3 separate regions of the Homo sapiens genome follow, and regions 2 and 3 are each linked to region 1. Evidence: promoter capture Hi-C in 16 types of primary human blood cells and fetal thymus (Javierre and others, 2016). All regions are on one chromosome and are shown on one strand. Each heading gives the region's core, a stretch centred on a gene start or on the middle of the fragment in contact. The rest is flanking DNA. Distances are from core to core; before and after follow the strand shown. Region 1 holds the start of RINT1 (RAD50 interactor 1). Region 2 holds the start of CBLL1 (Cbl proto-oncogene like 1). Region 3 holds the start of COG5 (component of oligomeric golgi complex 5).

The links. Contacts are between HindIII fragments. The CHiCAGO score rates a contact against its expected background, and 5 or more counts as called.
Region 2: a contact is called between the fragment with the promoter of CBLL1 here and the fragment with the promoter of RINT1 in region 1, in 1 of 17 cell types (non-activated CD4 T cells). The highest score is 6.5, in non-activated CD4 T cells.
Region 3: a contact is called between the fragment with the promoter of COG5 here and the fragment with the promoter of RINT1 in region 1, in 1 of 17 cell types (activated CD4 T cells). The highest score is 7.0, in activated CD4 T cells.

Annotation. Positions count from the first base shown.
Region 1 is chr7:105,530,000-105,534,710 of GRCh38, reverse strand. RINT1 (RAD50 interactor 1) reads right to left here and starts at 2,510. Exons shown (of 15, transcript NM_021930.6): 1 at 2,354-2,510; 2 at 1,842-1,887. The coding sequence starts at 2,395. It also overlaps the pseudogene LOC100131785. RefSeq lists enhancers at 1,738-2,314, 2,160-2,339, 2,430-2,729, 2,315-2,892, 3,180-3,229. The HindIII fragment of the contact is 4,822 bases long and covers 2,257-4,711 here.
Region 2 is chr7:107,742,293-107,747,003 of GRCh38, reverse strand. It overlaps CBLL1 (Cbl proto-oncogene like 1), which reads right to left and starts at 2,862. Exons shown (of 6, transcript NM_024814.4): 1 at 2,828-2,862. The coding sequence starts at 2,840. CBLL1-AS1 (CBLL1 antisense RNA 1) reads left to right here and starts at 2,423. Exons shown (of 2, transcript NR_144537.1): 1 at 2,423-2,631; 2 at 3,601-4,251. RefSeq lists enhancers at 2,388-2,567, 2,918-3,137, 3,235-3,753, 3,754-4,273 and a silencer at 3,178-3,377. The HindIII fragment of the contact is 5,122 bases long and covers 1-4,071 here.
Region 3 is chr7:107,561,774-107,566,484 of GRCh38, reverse strand. COG5 (component of oligomeric golgi complex 5) reads left to right here and starts at 2,565. Exons shown (of 22, transcript NM_006348.5): 1 at 2,565-2,682. The coding sequence starts at 2,589. DUS4L-BCAP29 (DUS4L-BCAP29 readthrough) reads right to left here and starts at 2,514. Exons shown (of 13, transcript NR_163941.2): 1 at 2,276-2,514; 2 at 1,809-1,897. DUS4L (dihydrouridine synthase 4 like) reads right to left here and starts at 2,514. Exons shown (of 8, transcript NM_181581.3): 1 at 2,276-2,514; 2 at 1,809-1,897. RefSeq lists enhancers at 788-1,987, 2,518-2,637 and silencers at 2,338-2,437, 2,476-2,686. The HindIII fragment of the contact is 2,647 bases long and covers 1,686-4,332 here.

The DNA.
Region 1 (4,711 bases), core at 1,261-3,760:
TTTAGAGGGTAGGAGAGGCAATATTAACATAACACTATGCCTCAATTTTCCAACTAGAAAACAAATTGTAACATTTGCCCCAGCCTATATCTCAAGGTTATAAATGGGACTATATAATACAAATTATATATTAATTATACTATATAATTATATATAATATTAACGTATAATAATCTACTATTATGTACAGAACTCACAATGCCTTTTTTAAATCTTAAATAAAACAAGTGATTTGTGTGGTGTATCTGCAGATAAATGGAGGCAGGAAATGTTTTGTGAATGCTAAAGTTGCTGTATCTTAGGGAGGAAATTCTACCTTCATTTTTTAAAAAAAATTACACCCACTGAGCACAGTGGCTCATGCCTATAATCCCAGCACTTTGGAAGGCCGAGGACGGTGGATTGCCTGAGGTCAGGAGTTCAAGACCAGCCTAACCAAAATGGTGAAACCCTGCCTCTACTAAAAATACAAAAATTAGCCGGGTGTTTGGCGGGCACCAGTAATCCCAGCTACTGAGGAGGCCGAGGCAGGGGAATTACTTGAACTCAGAGGCGGAGCTTGCAGTAAGGCGAGATCGCGCCACTGCACTCCAGCCTGAGAGACAGAGTGAGACTAAGTCTCAAAAAAAAAAAAAATTACACCCTTGATGTGTAACCATTCAAATGTGGCATAGTACATTCTTAGTGAAATGACATTCTTCAAAATGACACACCGGTGGTTTGGGAGGTTTTTATGTGTCTCCTTTTCTATTTTTTGTAAAGAGCACTCCTAACTGCAAAGCAGTTTGAGCTGTGGAAAGAGGAACAAGGTCAAAGTCCTTGATATGATAGTCTACATCTATTATTTTATTAAAATGACAGCTCAGTAGGCATCAGACTACTTTCCAGGCATCTGAATGAGGCAAAGGTGGAAAATGGAAAGGGAAGGGTTTAACTGAGAGATACAAGGCACTCTGAAATCCTTCAAGAAAAAGGAGCTGAGATGTGGCAGTTATGACAGTCATGTGCTATGGACTGCTCAGAGCCTTCTTTCTGAGGCAGATTCTATCAGCCGCTAATGTTAAGGGCAAATCTTACTCCTAAGGGCCATGTGCTAATGTGGGCACCGTTTTTCTTACTGCTACACATTCCCAACTGTTTGCCACAGTCAAAAGAACCAAAAATCCCAATAGCAGAGCTATCACATGCTTTTCCCCTTCCTCTCCCAAAAAATGTCACTTCAAAGGTCCCTAAAGAGCCCTTGATTTGCAATAACCTGCCATCAAAGTAAAATGGCAAAAGTCCACAACCCTGACATATACTCCCGTACTAGGGAGGAAATGGTGGTACTGACCTTTTCCCCCTTTCCTGTCCAGTCCAAGATCCAGAACCCAAGTTATCCGTTGTGCTCTTGCCAGAGCAATTTTAAATTGCCAATTTACTGAAGGTGAACTAAACAACTGTCATTTGCCTCCTTTGAACCCAATTAGGGTGGTGGTCGTCTGTCCTAGATCATGGGCCCCTCCAAATTCCTGATGCTTAGTAAGTTGATGTTTCATTAAAATGACAGGCAGGCCCCAATTATTCTGAGTACTGTATGATAGGCAGACTTCCAGCGAAAACACTCTAGTCCCTGTACTAGGTATGGATCGGGAAGTGCTCTTCTCCAAAGCATCCCATATTTTACAATTTTAGAAAGACAAAAATATGTGTATCATGGTCATCAGTATTACCATATAAGCATATTGTGCAGAAAACGGTACTGCATCTAAAAGATAGGCAAAGAACCTTTCTATATTGCAGACCCTGGAAGGCTGAGTTTGGGCGGGAAGAAAAAGCTAAGGTGTTTGGAGCTGGCTTACTTTTCTCCTCGAGGTTCTTCCTTTCGTCACCACTTTCAGAGCAGCACTAGAAGAAGAACAGATGTGACAAGCACATTAAGATTAAAGTCGTGGATGGAAAGCATACGGGGCTCCCAAAGGGCACCCACTGGAGGCAAGAGAGGTTCCAGACGCTCTCCCACTTTCTGAGCGACCAGGGCCGTCCGAATCAGGTACCTCAAAGTGCCACTGTCCTGGTGCCACCGCCACCTTCCCAGGAGGTGTGTGTCACCTCCGCAGGACCTGGAGTTACCTTGCCTGCTCACTAGAGCCACCTCCCTAGAGAAATCTGTCATCTCACCAGGGCCGCCAAAGCCACTTCACGGGGACTACCGCCTCCTCTAGGAGGTCTTACAAGGGCCTCTAATCTAAGCCGCAGGAAGCACCTTCACAAGCTTACAGGGCCACCGCACCGGGACTATCTCCCCCGGGAGGTCTGTGCCACCTCAATGGGCCACCAATGTCCCCTCCCAGGGACGCCAGGGCCGTCTCACCGGGGCTGCAGGAGAGGCGCCGATCTCGCCGGCTGGTAGCATCTCGCCTCCGCGCGAGTCCTCGGCTCCATTCGCAGCCAGCGTGGCCTGTGGAGTCTGGCTAAGGCCAGCGACACACTCACTACCCAGCCTCGGAGGCCGTAGGACTGAGTGCCACAGCGACTTCCTCTCGATGTCTCACTGGTTTCTTCCTCTCAGCCCAGAGAGGCCCTGCCCGTGCAGCCGCCGGCCGTGCTCTGTTCCTCCCCCTCCTGACCGGAGGTCGGAACGGCCACTCAGGAAGCGGGCACCCTCCCCTATGGAGCTCCAGAGAAGGGATTCGCTCACTCCACCGCGGTAAAAGTCCCCTCCACTTTATTGAAGCTCTTAATGATGGAACTTTAAGATATCCCTCTCCCAACGCCTTAAATTCAATATGAATAATTTAAATTTATATTTTAGGCAATATCCAGATGTTCTGAGAGTGTGGGGGGCTTGTTGACTAGGAGCTTCGGTGCAGGGTTATTTGGTTCGAATATTTAGTTGGGGGTTTCCAATGAATGTCAGTATCTTTAGATATTTCTTTTAACGTTGGTCAGAGTCCCTAGAGATGAGCTTCTGATTTCCTGCCTAGAGGGTGTAGAGGTGGTTATAAGCGTTCTGGGAGCTGAATGAAGAGAACAGAGCATCTAACATGTGTTTCGCCCAAAACCCTGTCTTTTACCAGGGAGGAGGAAAGGGAGCTACCTAGCAGCAAGGGTTGTGTAGAGGACCTGTGGACTTGACAGCCTCTTAAACAAACTAACACGGAAGGAGTACCATAGAGACCATAACAAACAAGGGGGGGGGAAAGCAACCCTCAGAGGAAAAAGAAACCACACGGTGAGAAGAAAAATCAAATACATGTGCACAGAGATATATAATCGAGCTACAAATTACTATTGCAAGCATAAAACAAGGATGGCTGGGCGCTGTGGCTCACGCCTGTAATCCCAGCACTTTGGGAGGCCGAGGCAGGCAGATTACGAGGTCAGGAGATCGAGACCATCCTGGCTAACATGGTGAAACCCCGTCTCTACTAAAAATACAAAAAATTAGCCAGGCGTGGTGGTGGGCGCCTGTAGTCCCAGCTACTCAGGAGGCTGAGGCAGGAGAATGGCGTGAACCCGGGAGGTGGAGCGTGCAGTGAGCAGAGACCGCACCACTGCACTCTAGCCTGGACGACAGAGCAAGACTCCGTCTCATTTAAAAAAAAAAAAAAAAACAAGGATACTATTTTTTAAATTACCTATTATGGGAACATAATCGTATATATTTATAGTGTACATGTGTGTTTGTTTTTTTTTTGCTCAGGCTGGGGTGCAATGGCGTTATCTCTGCTCGCAGCAACCTCCGCCTCCCAGGTTCAAGCGATTCGCCTGCCTCAGCCTCCCAAGTAGCTGGGATTACAGGCATGCACCACCACGCCCGTCTAATTTTGTATTTTTAGTAGAGACGATGTTTCTCCATGTTAGTCAGGCTGGTCTCGAACTCCCGGCCTCGGGTGAACTGCCCGCCTTGGCGTACCAAAGTGCTGGGATTACAGGTGTGAGCCACTGCGCCCGGCCTTTTTTTCTGGGGCGGGGCGGGGGACGGGTAAAGAAATTTTAATGAGGATTCAAGGTTTGTAGGGAAGACACAGAGGACCGGCGCTCAGCCCCAGCCTCCTCACGTGTACATGGCTCCATGGAGGTTCTCCAGTCGGTTCTGCTGCTGCTGCTGTTTTCGAGCCTTATCTCGTCTGTGTTCCTCATAAGTGTAGTCATCAGTGGGCAGCTCATGGCGGCACAAGGGACAGGAATTTGTCTTGCTTAGCCAGGGCAGAATGCAACTGGAATGAAAAAGGTGTTGGGAAGCATCTCAATGGCAGTCTCCTCCTCAGATTCCAAAAGATACACGGGGCACTTGAGCTCAGCCTTGAGAGCCTCTGATGACTGTCCTGGAGAGGTTCTCAACCACAATCTTGGCAGCCGGTGGAGGCAGGTGGTGGTCCCAATCTACTACCAACCCCAAGTCTTCAAAGTCCATCCTATTCAAAAGTGACCTTACGAGCTCCAGCACCATGTTGGTTCGAGTCTCCTGCTTGAGGGTCCAACGGCTCACAGTCGTGTTCATCGATATAGGACGCCATGGCTGCCCAGCCGTCTGACATGTGATGTTTTGATACAGGTATACAATGTGTAACTATCAAATCCGAGTAACTGGGGTATTGATCATCTTGAGAATTTATCATTTCTTTGTGTTAGGAACAGTCCAATTCCACTCTTTTAGTTATTTTAAAATATGCAATAAATTATTAACTGTAGTCACTCTGTTTTATTGTTGTTGTTGTCGTCATTT
Region 2 (4,711 bases), core at 1,613-4,112, 2.2 Mb before region 1:
TACTGGCCACTTCAGATAAATTCACTTTAAAAAGGCACAACACTTCCATATCATATAGTTTAAAAAAGATTGGGGATTTTTTATCTTGAATAAAAAGAACCAATAAATATTTTACAAAATCTGGGATCTTTTACAAAATCTGGGATACAGTTACAGAAGTGCTAATTCTTAGAATGACCAAAGAATAAATCCAGTGTTAATGGGGAGCCCCTTGGAGTAATTTTTCTGGCAAGATTCTATTAGAACACCTTCATTTTCACATTTGAATGTTTCGGTATGATCATAAAATGGGTCATTTTTGCATAATGTTCAAGGGTTTCATCTGTTTCCCCAAGGACCTCTTAATCCTTTAATATTACAATTATTCTTTTGAGATGCCTATCCTGTCATGATTCTTCAATTATCTAGCTAAGTGGCATTTCCTCATTTGTCAAAGCCTTTGTGATTTAAACAATTATCAAATTCATGTTTACGAATTTCATGAAAACCAGAATCTTCTACAAGGTTTATAATTTTATTTCACAATCAGTGCACAGTATTTGATACTGTCTTCTGATACTAAACATCAAAGAGATTGATTCATTTAAAAAAAATAAAATAGGTAAGAAGCTAGTGTTAAGCAGAAGGGACATCTGAGAGGGAACTAATTTTTTAAGTGGTCAGCTCATTCGTGAGTATTTTCATGTTAAGATGAGTTTTACTTCCTTAGGCAATCTCTAAACTTCAAGAATTAAGATAATAAACACTCTTTACACTCACCCCTATTATGATTTCCTAACATAATAGCCTCTAAACTATGGCAGGAACTTGACTCATAATTCCAGTAGTGGGCTCAAATAAGAATTACTTTCCTAAAGTTGAATGTTTGCTATTCTAACATCAAAATCCCAGTTTCAACTCTATAAATTCCCAAACACTGGAATTCTTTACAGCCTCGTTCTAGGCCGGCTTCTCCTCTGAACACACCCTTCTTAAGTGGTCTCATCTGTCCTCATGCTTTAAAATACCAGCTATAAATAAAGGTACTAACTTCCAAATACGTATTTTCAGTGCAGATCTTTCCTCTCATCTCCACTTGGCATCTCTCCTGTGTCTCAGTAGTTATCTCACACTAGCAGTCCAAGACCAAACACTTGTTCCCAAATTCCCGTCTCACCTCTACAAAAAAAGATTGTTTTCTGCCCCAAGTTTTCCTCAGCTCAATAATGGACCCTACCTAGTTGCTCAAACCAAAAGCCTAGGCATTTCTCCTTTCTCTCACATTCCTTCAAACACCACCAGAGTATTTACTGAAGCTGCCCATTCTCCTTCATTTTCACCAAACCAACCTTCCCTTCCCGTCTACTGCAATCAGCTATTTTCCATCATTCTTACCTCCCTCTCTTACACCATTCTTCATAGAACAGCCTATTGTATTTTTTAAGAGACTGTGTTCCTCCTCCACTTCTGTTCAATGGCTTCATATTCACTTAAATTAAAATTCAAACGTTTACCACGGCTTTCAATGACCTGAATGATGTGCCTGCTGCCCTCCTTTCCAATCTCACTTCAGGACTCCTACCCTCTGGCTATTAGGAGGCTGCAGCTGACTTCACTGTATCTTCCTACCTCAGTGCCTTCGCACTTGCTGGAAATGCTCTTCCTCTTGCTTTTTTCCCAGGGCTGGGTTCTTCTCATCCATCAGATCTTAGCTTCCACAAAGACCATTCCTAACAACCCTCTCTGAAATTTCGTCCTATGAATCTCTCCACAGCACTCGTTTATTTTCTTCAAAATAATCCGCAAACATTAAAAAAATAATAAATTTAAAAAAAAAGAACGTATTGTCTGTGTTCCTCCATAAAACAGAAGTTCTATCACGGACCTGGTCCGTCTCGTTTACCATTCCATCTTCCATCTCCCGACCTATAGATATCTGCATGTATCTTGCATAAATAAACATACACACCTACATAAATAAACATACACACCTAATTATATAACCAAGTAGATATCTGATGAGTGAGGACAACTCAATACTCAAGAAAAAGCCTTTTTTTCTCTATTTGTGATACGGTCGCTATAAATGTATGGGGCACATAACTCCAAGAGCACTCATTCAATATCCAAGAACCACAAAGAAGCAAAAGCCAGAAAATACATAACAAAGGGTGGAGCCACTCTTACTTGGAGAAAAGTATGAGAATGCCTTGATTTTAAACTCCTCTTTGTAAATACCCTCAAATGATGAGTAAGGACCTCAGCCGAAGCGCGGGGCATGCTTTTGGTTTAGGTAGAAAAACTGCTCCGAGTTTGATTCCAAAAACTCTATCAGACTCCCTTCTTTCACCCCTCTAGTCCATAAAGGATCGGAGAGACGACAGGGGGTGACCACTGCAGCACCCGCCCAAAGCTGACTGAGACAGCAGGAAGTCTCCAACCCATTCTCGCCCGTCCACTCCCAGCGTAAAGAGGATTCCGCGACTCGGAGACCGCAATCTACCCGCCAGTCTCCATAACGTAGGCCAGAGCAGCTGGGCTAAATAAAACAGAGCCGGGGCTCTCCCTTCCCGAAGGCCTACATCGCCCACTGGTCCGGGCTCGGAGCTCAGCAGAACCAGAGTAGGAGCGGTTGTTGCCGGCACGGAGGAGGTAGGTACCACACCAGACGGTAGGCCAGGAAACCGCAGGCCCCTGCCGGGCACAGGAAGGCATCTGTGAGATTTCTTCTCACTGCCACACCCTAGTGTTGTGGGGCGAGCATAATCCCTTTTGCCTGCTGTGCGACCAGCCCCAGGCCGGCCAAGGGGGCTTGGAACCGGGACCCCCACTGCCTCCGCCTCCTTACCAGTGTGATCCATGATTCGGCTCGCAGAGCACAGTGGGAGCGGAAGTCAACCGCGCCGGAGTCGCAGCGAGCGCGTGCGCACTGCCTTCCGGAGGCCGGGAGGCGGAAGTCCAAGCAGGTTGTCCCAATTTTGGCCTGCAAAGACTTCCTTCTCTCGCCTCTACTATCCAACTCCTGTGAGGGACTCAGGCATAGTTCGGGCGGAGGCAGAAAGAGCGAGCGCGCGAAGAACTTCGGTATTGAGGTTGCTAAGGCTTCTCCTCATGTGCTTCAAGAGAAAGTAGCCTTTAACTGTGGAAAGGACACCAGGGGGACCGGGGAAGGGGAGAGCAGTGGTAAAAATGAGCCAGAAGCAGATAAGGCGACTGCCCGCCCCGCGGAGAGCTGCCTTCTGGGACTTGTAGTGCGCGGGGCCCCCGGAGCCGGCTGGCTGCGCAGGCTCGGCCGTTGCGCTGGCCCCACCCCGGCGGGCGGAGTAACGGTTTGGAATCCCCCGGGGTCAGCGAGCGCTTGTTTCCTCCGCCTGGTGTAGCAAAAGTGTAAACACGCGCGCTCCGGAAGGCGCCCTCCAGTGGGAGGTTGCTCAGGGGATGGCGGAGCTGTGAAACTCGGAGCTAGAAGGAAAGTCTCAACGCTTGTCTAAATTTTGCTTTGTCGTGACGAGCTACCTAGACCCACGCAGAGCTAACTTGGTATATGCCCCGGTTCCCATCTCTTAAGTCTCTTTACAGTTGAAACACGTTTATAATGCTTGACTGCCACTCACTTTCTAGGGAGAGCGCTTGTGACGCTACGAACCTCTCGAACACCTGACGACTGGGCGCCAGGGCCGGATGGAGGGTGGAGAGCCAGTGCGGCGCAGCTGCCTCCTCTTAACGGGGACACCTTGCAGGAATGTGCGGAGTGGAGCTAACGGGAGCGGATAGAAACCGAGGGAGGGGAAGAGAGCGCGAAGGCTTGGCCGGAAGGAGAGGTTAAAAAGGAAAGGCCTAAAATGAGGAAGAGAGTTACCACAACAAGCAGTACCTAGTTCCAGTTCTTGGTCCCAGGAGTTTGTGGTTGTTGCTGCTTTCATCTTCCTCAGCCAACACAAAAGGAAAGTGCCAAGGGGCGATTCCTAGGACCTTCAGTGCAGTCTCCACCTTGCGGACTTGGCTCATTTGTGTCCACTCCTTTCTCCAGCCTTTTACACTTGATGCTCTTGGATGAATAGAAAGGAGCACAATTAATGGAAAACACAAGCTTGGGAGTCAAGGGATTTGGGTTCTATTCTTGTCCTCCCTTGGTGACGACATCATTACCTTGGGTTATTCAAGCTTTCAGTGCCAGAGTTCCTATATCAATAAAAGATTATTACATTGACCTCTTAGAGAAATGTTTTCATGGTACTGAATTGCAAATAAAGTATGTGTAGCGATGTGTTATATCTTTGTAGTTGTACGGTATTATTTGTGAATCATGCTGTGATGATCAGTGCGATTTAAGTGCACCATGTTATTTGGTGATTATTTTCCTGAGATCTTGTAAAAGATTTTTCTGCTCTATATATGCAGCTTTATAAACAAGTTTTTAGGTACATTCACAACTAAGGACATTTGTGAATCAAAATTACCCCTGCTTTTTTTAAATGTAAAGTTCTGTATTGCTAGGTGGTTTTCAAGATGCTTTCAGTTTCTGGGATTATTGTTTTGGGCATTGGGGCTTGCCTAACCTTTTTCCCATACCTCCCTATTTTTCTAAATACAGTGTTGATATAGTCAGGCATTTTTCACCAATTTGGGTTTTTTTTTTTTTTTTAAGTTTTCACTTAGAAAGTACTTCTTTTTCATATTAAAAAAATTTTTTTTAGAGATGGGGCAGCCCAAACTGGAACACAATGGCAGA
Region 3 (4,711 bases), core at 1,316-3,815, 2.0 Mb before region 1:
AATTTCAATTATAATTCTACAATTGCATTGTAAATCACTTTTATACCCCAAGAGGTACAGGTACGAGTGATGAAATTATGGAGTTTGTAAATGTTTTACATTTGCTATACTTAAAATCCTACTATTTCACAGTGTTGGCTACTTTTCATATTCCAGTCCTTGGCCTCAGTAACTTAGAAACAGGTATGTATGAAGGAAAAATGAAGCAGAAAATAACAACAACAAAAAAAAGAATCAGATATGGGCCAACTTTAGAATGGTCTAATTGCTCAAACTTTAGAGTCTTTAACCTTTAGGCAAGGAGTTGAAATTAAAAATAGCCAAGGTACTTAAGGATGTCAGGATCTTGCAAGAAACCGCTGGAAGCACCAATATTTAAGTAACAGAGGAAAAGGGGAGAGCAAAAGAGACTGAAGATGAACTTTGGAGCTGGGAGGAATAAACCTAAAGAGTGATACTCAGAAAACGAGAGAGACCATTATGAAGGAAGGAGGGGATAGGTATCTTAAACATCAAAGTAAGGCAAAAATAAAGCGCAATGGCAACAAGGTCATTAGTGATTTTAGCAAGAATTACTTCATTTTTATCCACTCCTGCAGTCATAGTAAATGGCATACAGAAGGCCTCAATATTTATTTGCTGAAAGAATAAATCAGTAGGTTTCAGGGGACTGGGCTCACACCTGTAAACTCAGCATTTTGGGAGGCCAAGGTGGGAGGCTTGCTTAAGGCCAGGAGTTTGAGACCAGCTTGGGCAATATAGTGAGACCCCCATCTCTAAAAAAATTATAAAAATCAGCTGGGCGTGGTAGCAAGCGACTGTGATCCCAACTACTCCAGAAGCTTGGGCAGGAGGATCCCTTGAGCCCAGGAGGTTGAGGCTGCAGTGAGCCACGATCCTGCCACTGCACTCCAGCCTGGGTAACAGAGCTAGACCCCAACTCAACAAAACAAAACAATCAGTAGCTTTCTACCTTAGTTGTACACTACAATGACCCGAGGAGCTTTTAAGAATTAGCATGCCCAAGCCATACCCTAGACCAATTAAATCCAAACGTCTGGGCTCAGGATGCAGGCATCAGTGTTTTTATTAAAGCTCTTCAGGTGATTTCAATGTGCAGCTAAGCTTGGAATTACTGGAATAAGTAAATCCAAAGATTCCAAAGCACCTGGTACAATTGTTTGTTTAAATGGGTTCCTACCTTACCTATTAACTCCTTTTAGAATATGGATTGAGTCTTATGTTTGTAAACTCATGAGAGCATGCAGAGTAGAGGGGTCAAAACTTTCGCTGTATGAATGAATATTACTCACTCTTCTAAAATCTTCCACTGGGGGGAATAAAGCCAAGGAAGGAAAAACAATTCCTAATTCACAAGTAATGAATGAATCACCCCTATTCCCATCATGACTAAGATCTTACATACTAGGGAAAATCCTCTGAGACAAAGAGAGCATAATGCAGTGTAGCATAAGACTTGCTTACCTGAGGTGTTATGAGTATGAAATGCATTGAGTTATAAAATACTTAGAACAGCGATAAGCACAGGATAAGTAATAGCACCTTTTTGAAACAGAATGTAGAAAACCACGTAGCTCTGGAACTGGATAAAATTGGTTTCCTGGATACATACCTACTGTACAAAATGAAAAAGTCATCTTCCAGCTTCTTTTTGCGAAGAAGCTTAAGACTGTCTTGCATACTTGTGGTTGCCTGACCCTGTTAATTTATCAGTATTTATCTTAGAAGAAAGAAATCTAGGTCAAAAACGCGAACGTATTAGTAAAGAAGATACAATGGGAACCAACCTGATGCTCTTACAGCGTCAATACTGTTAGTTGAGATGTGGACCATCTATCAGTTTGTAATTAAGAAAAAGTCTGGCACGTGACTGAAACTGAGGAAGAAGTAGAAAAGGCAAAAGGTCAAAGGTCTCATGGGAAGGAAGGAGGGTAGAGACAGTGAGTTTTATTGGTCCTTTTATGGTTCAGACTTCCTTCTTCATCGACTCTCCCTAATTCTCTTCACTGTTCATCCCCAGCAACTTTTCTTCCCAAGCATTTCCTGCGGGCTTTTATTACCCCAGGAGTGCCAATCAAGGCGTGGAACAGATAAAGCTGTGTAGCAACTAACGCGTGACTCTTGTGAGTGTGGAGGGCAAACGAAGCTCCCTGAAACCTCCGCTCTGCTCTCCTGCCTTACGCCGCGCGGCCCCTGTTCTGAGGTTTAATACTTGCTTCACAGATAAGCGCTGCGGCCACGTTCCGGTGCCCACCTTCTCCTTGGCTAGGGCACGACGCCAGCCCAGGGGGCGCGGCCCTGAGCTGCTGCGAGAGACAGCTGAAAGCGCCGGCCCGACGGCCTTGGCTCCCTCGGTGCGCTGGGCGCAGAGCACTCGGACCCTGGGCGCCCACTGCTCGAGTACCTGCGCGGCTCCTAGCCAGGCTTAGCCCAGGCGCGGGCTGAGAGTCAGTTCGCCAGGTGGGCCTGGAGCCATGGGCTGGGTGGGCGGGCGGCGCCGGGATTCTGCGTCACCACCTGGGCGGAGCCGTTCTGCTGCTGACGACATCAACCCGGCACCTGCCAACATGGAAGGTGGCGGCGGCAGCGTCGCTGTAGCTGGCCTCGGAGCTCGAGGCTCTGGAGCGGCTGCAGCTACAGTCCGGGAACTTCTGCAGGACGGTAAGGAGACGGGGTCTGACCAGGTCGTGGGGTTGGGGGTCTGCGCTGCTCCGCACCTGGACAGCGAGGTGGACCCAACCCGTTGCTTTGCAGAAAGTTTTCCAGTCTGGACGTGACCACTCCCCTCCGCCCGGCCCCCTGGCTTGGGTACTGTTCTAGCCAACCTATTTACTCTGGGACTGGCTCCCTCTTTTCTGGAGTCTTGGGGACACTTGGTTTCTGTGTGTTCCTCATTTCAACTCGACCCCCCCCCCCCCCATGCCTCCAGCTTCCCTGAAGTTTCGGGAGCCCAAACCCTGTGGACCGCGTTGGCAGCCACCGGCTGCTGCCGCAGTTCTTGACGAAGGGGTGTAGCGTTCGAGCTCTTCAAAAGTGTAAGCTCTAGAACAGACGGCAGACGCATAATGAAATAGGGCCTTGTTTTAAAGTAGAGCTGGAAACGCTTACTCCTTTAACAAATGGACTGTACAGGTGACCCCTCTTACAGGCTGGTTTTTTTTTTCCTCCTTTATGAGGCAGTTATCTACAGTGACACGTGGGGGAGGGTTTGAGACATTTGTTCAGGTTGGGATTAACCATTTGTACAGAATCTAGCAGTCAGATTTTATTGCTAGTCAGTTTGGAGAGAAGTTGCCCAAAATAAGAAAAGTTAGATATAATATACTTGAAAAGCATATTCAGTTGTGTCAATCCAGTTACCATGTCCCGAATCTCTTATCCTTCAGAATAAAGTTCACATTTATAAGCATAAAAATAAAGCCCTTCTCACCTGTTCTTAATTTTTTCTCTAGTGGCCATCGCATTCTACCTTGTACTAAAATCATTTGTATACTTGTTTTAATCTCTTCTGTATTGCAAACTTTTTTTAATATCCCACAGTGTGAATAGCAGTATCTTGCATACAGTAGGTGCAGAATGTTTTTTAAATTCATCATCGCAGTTAGAAGCACATGCACACATTTGAAGACCGAAGTGGGTAATAAATGAAATAAAGTTCCAAATTATTGTTTATTTTCTCTGACTGTTAAATATTTTATTGTCATCCTGAATTACGTGCCTTTTCATGATAATTTATGTACTTTTGTCAAAAGCAATGATGTTTTCTGAACTATTTCATGTTGGAAACTCTAGGACCGGGTCTCTGTCTAAAACTTGGCTAAACTGAATTTAAACTTTAGATACAAGGCAGAGACCCTGATATATTTGCAGTTGCTCCTGATACACGTGCAATTTTTGCCCTCAAGTAGTTCACCATCTAGTAGAGGAAATAATCTTGTAGACTATAAAGGTAGGTGCTGTAATATAGTGATGTAAGATAGCAGTAGGATTGCATATAAAGTAGAGCATTAATACAGAGGAGAATGATAACTGGGGGTTGGAAACTGGTTAGGAAATGTCAGAAAAGGCTTTCTAGGTGGAGACGTTTTAAACTGTAGACAGGACTTCCCCAGGTGAACAGTGGAACATTGGATATATGTTTCAGTAGGATGTATTTCAGGAATTGTAATCAGTTCTTGGACGGTAAATACTCTTCAGTTCTGCCTTCTGTATTTTCCTCCTTGGTTCTCTGCCATTCTCCACAGTGATTGTTTAAATCTTCTTTACCCTTTTCAAACCTTTCGCTTCAAGCTCAACAAATGACTTTAAGCTTCCCTGGGGAGAAAAAGAGGATCCATCAGATGTGAACTTTCTCCATTTCTTGCCCATCAAACCTATGAATTTAACCTCAACGTATAACCATCTGTTGCACCTTTTTTCCCTTGCCTTTTCAATTGCAACGGAAGTGGAGCCTCTGCTCCTTTCTTTCTTTCTTTCTTTTTTTTTTTTGAGACGGAGTCTCGCGCTGTTGCCCAGGCTGGAGTGCAGTGGCGCAGTCTCGGCTCACTGCAAGCTCTGCCTCCGGGGTTCACGCCATTCTCCTGGCTCAGCCTCCTGAGAAGCTGGGACTACAAGCGCCCATCACTATGCCTAGCTAATTTTTTGTATTTTTAGTAGAGACGGGGTTTCACCGTGTTAGCCAGGATGGTCT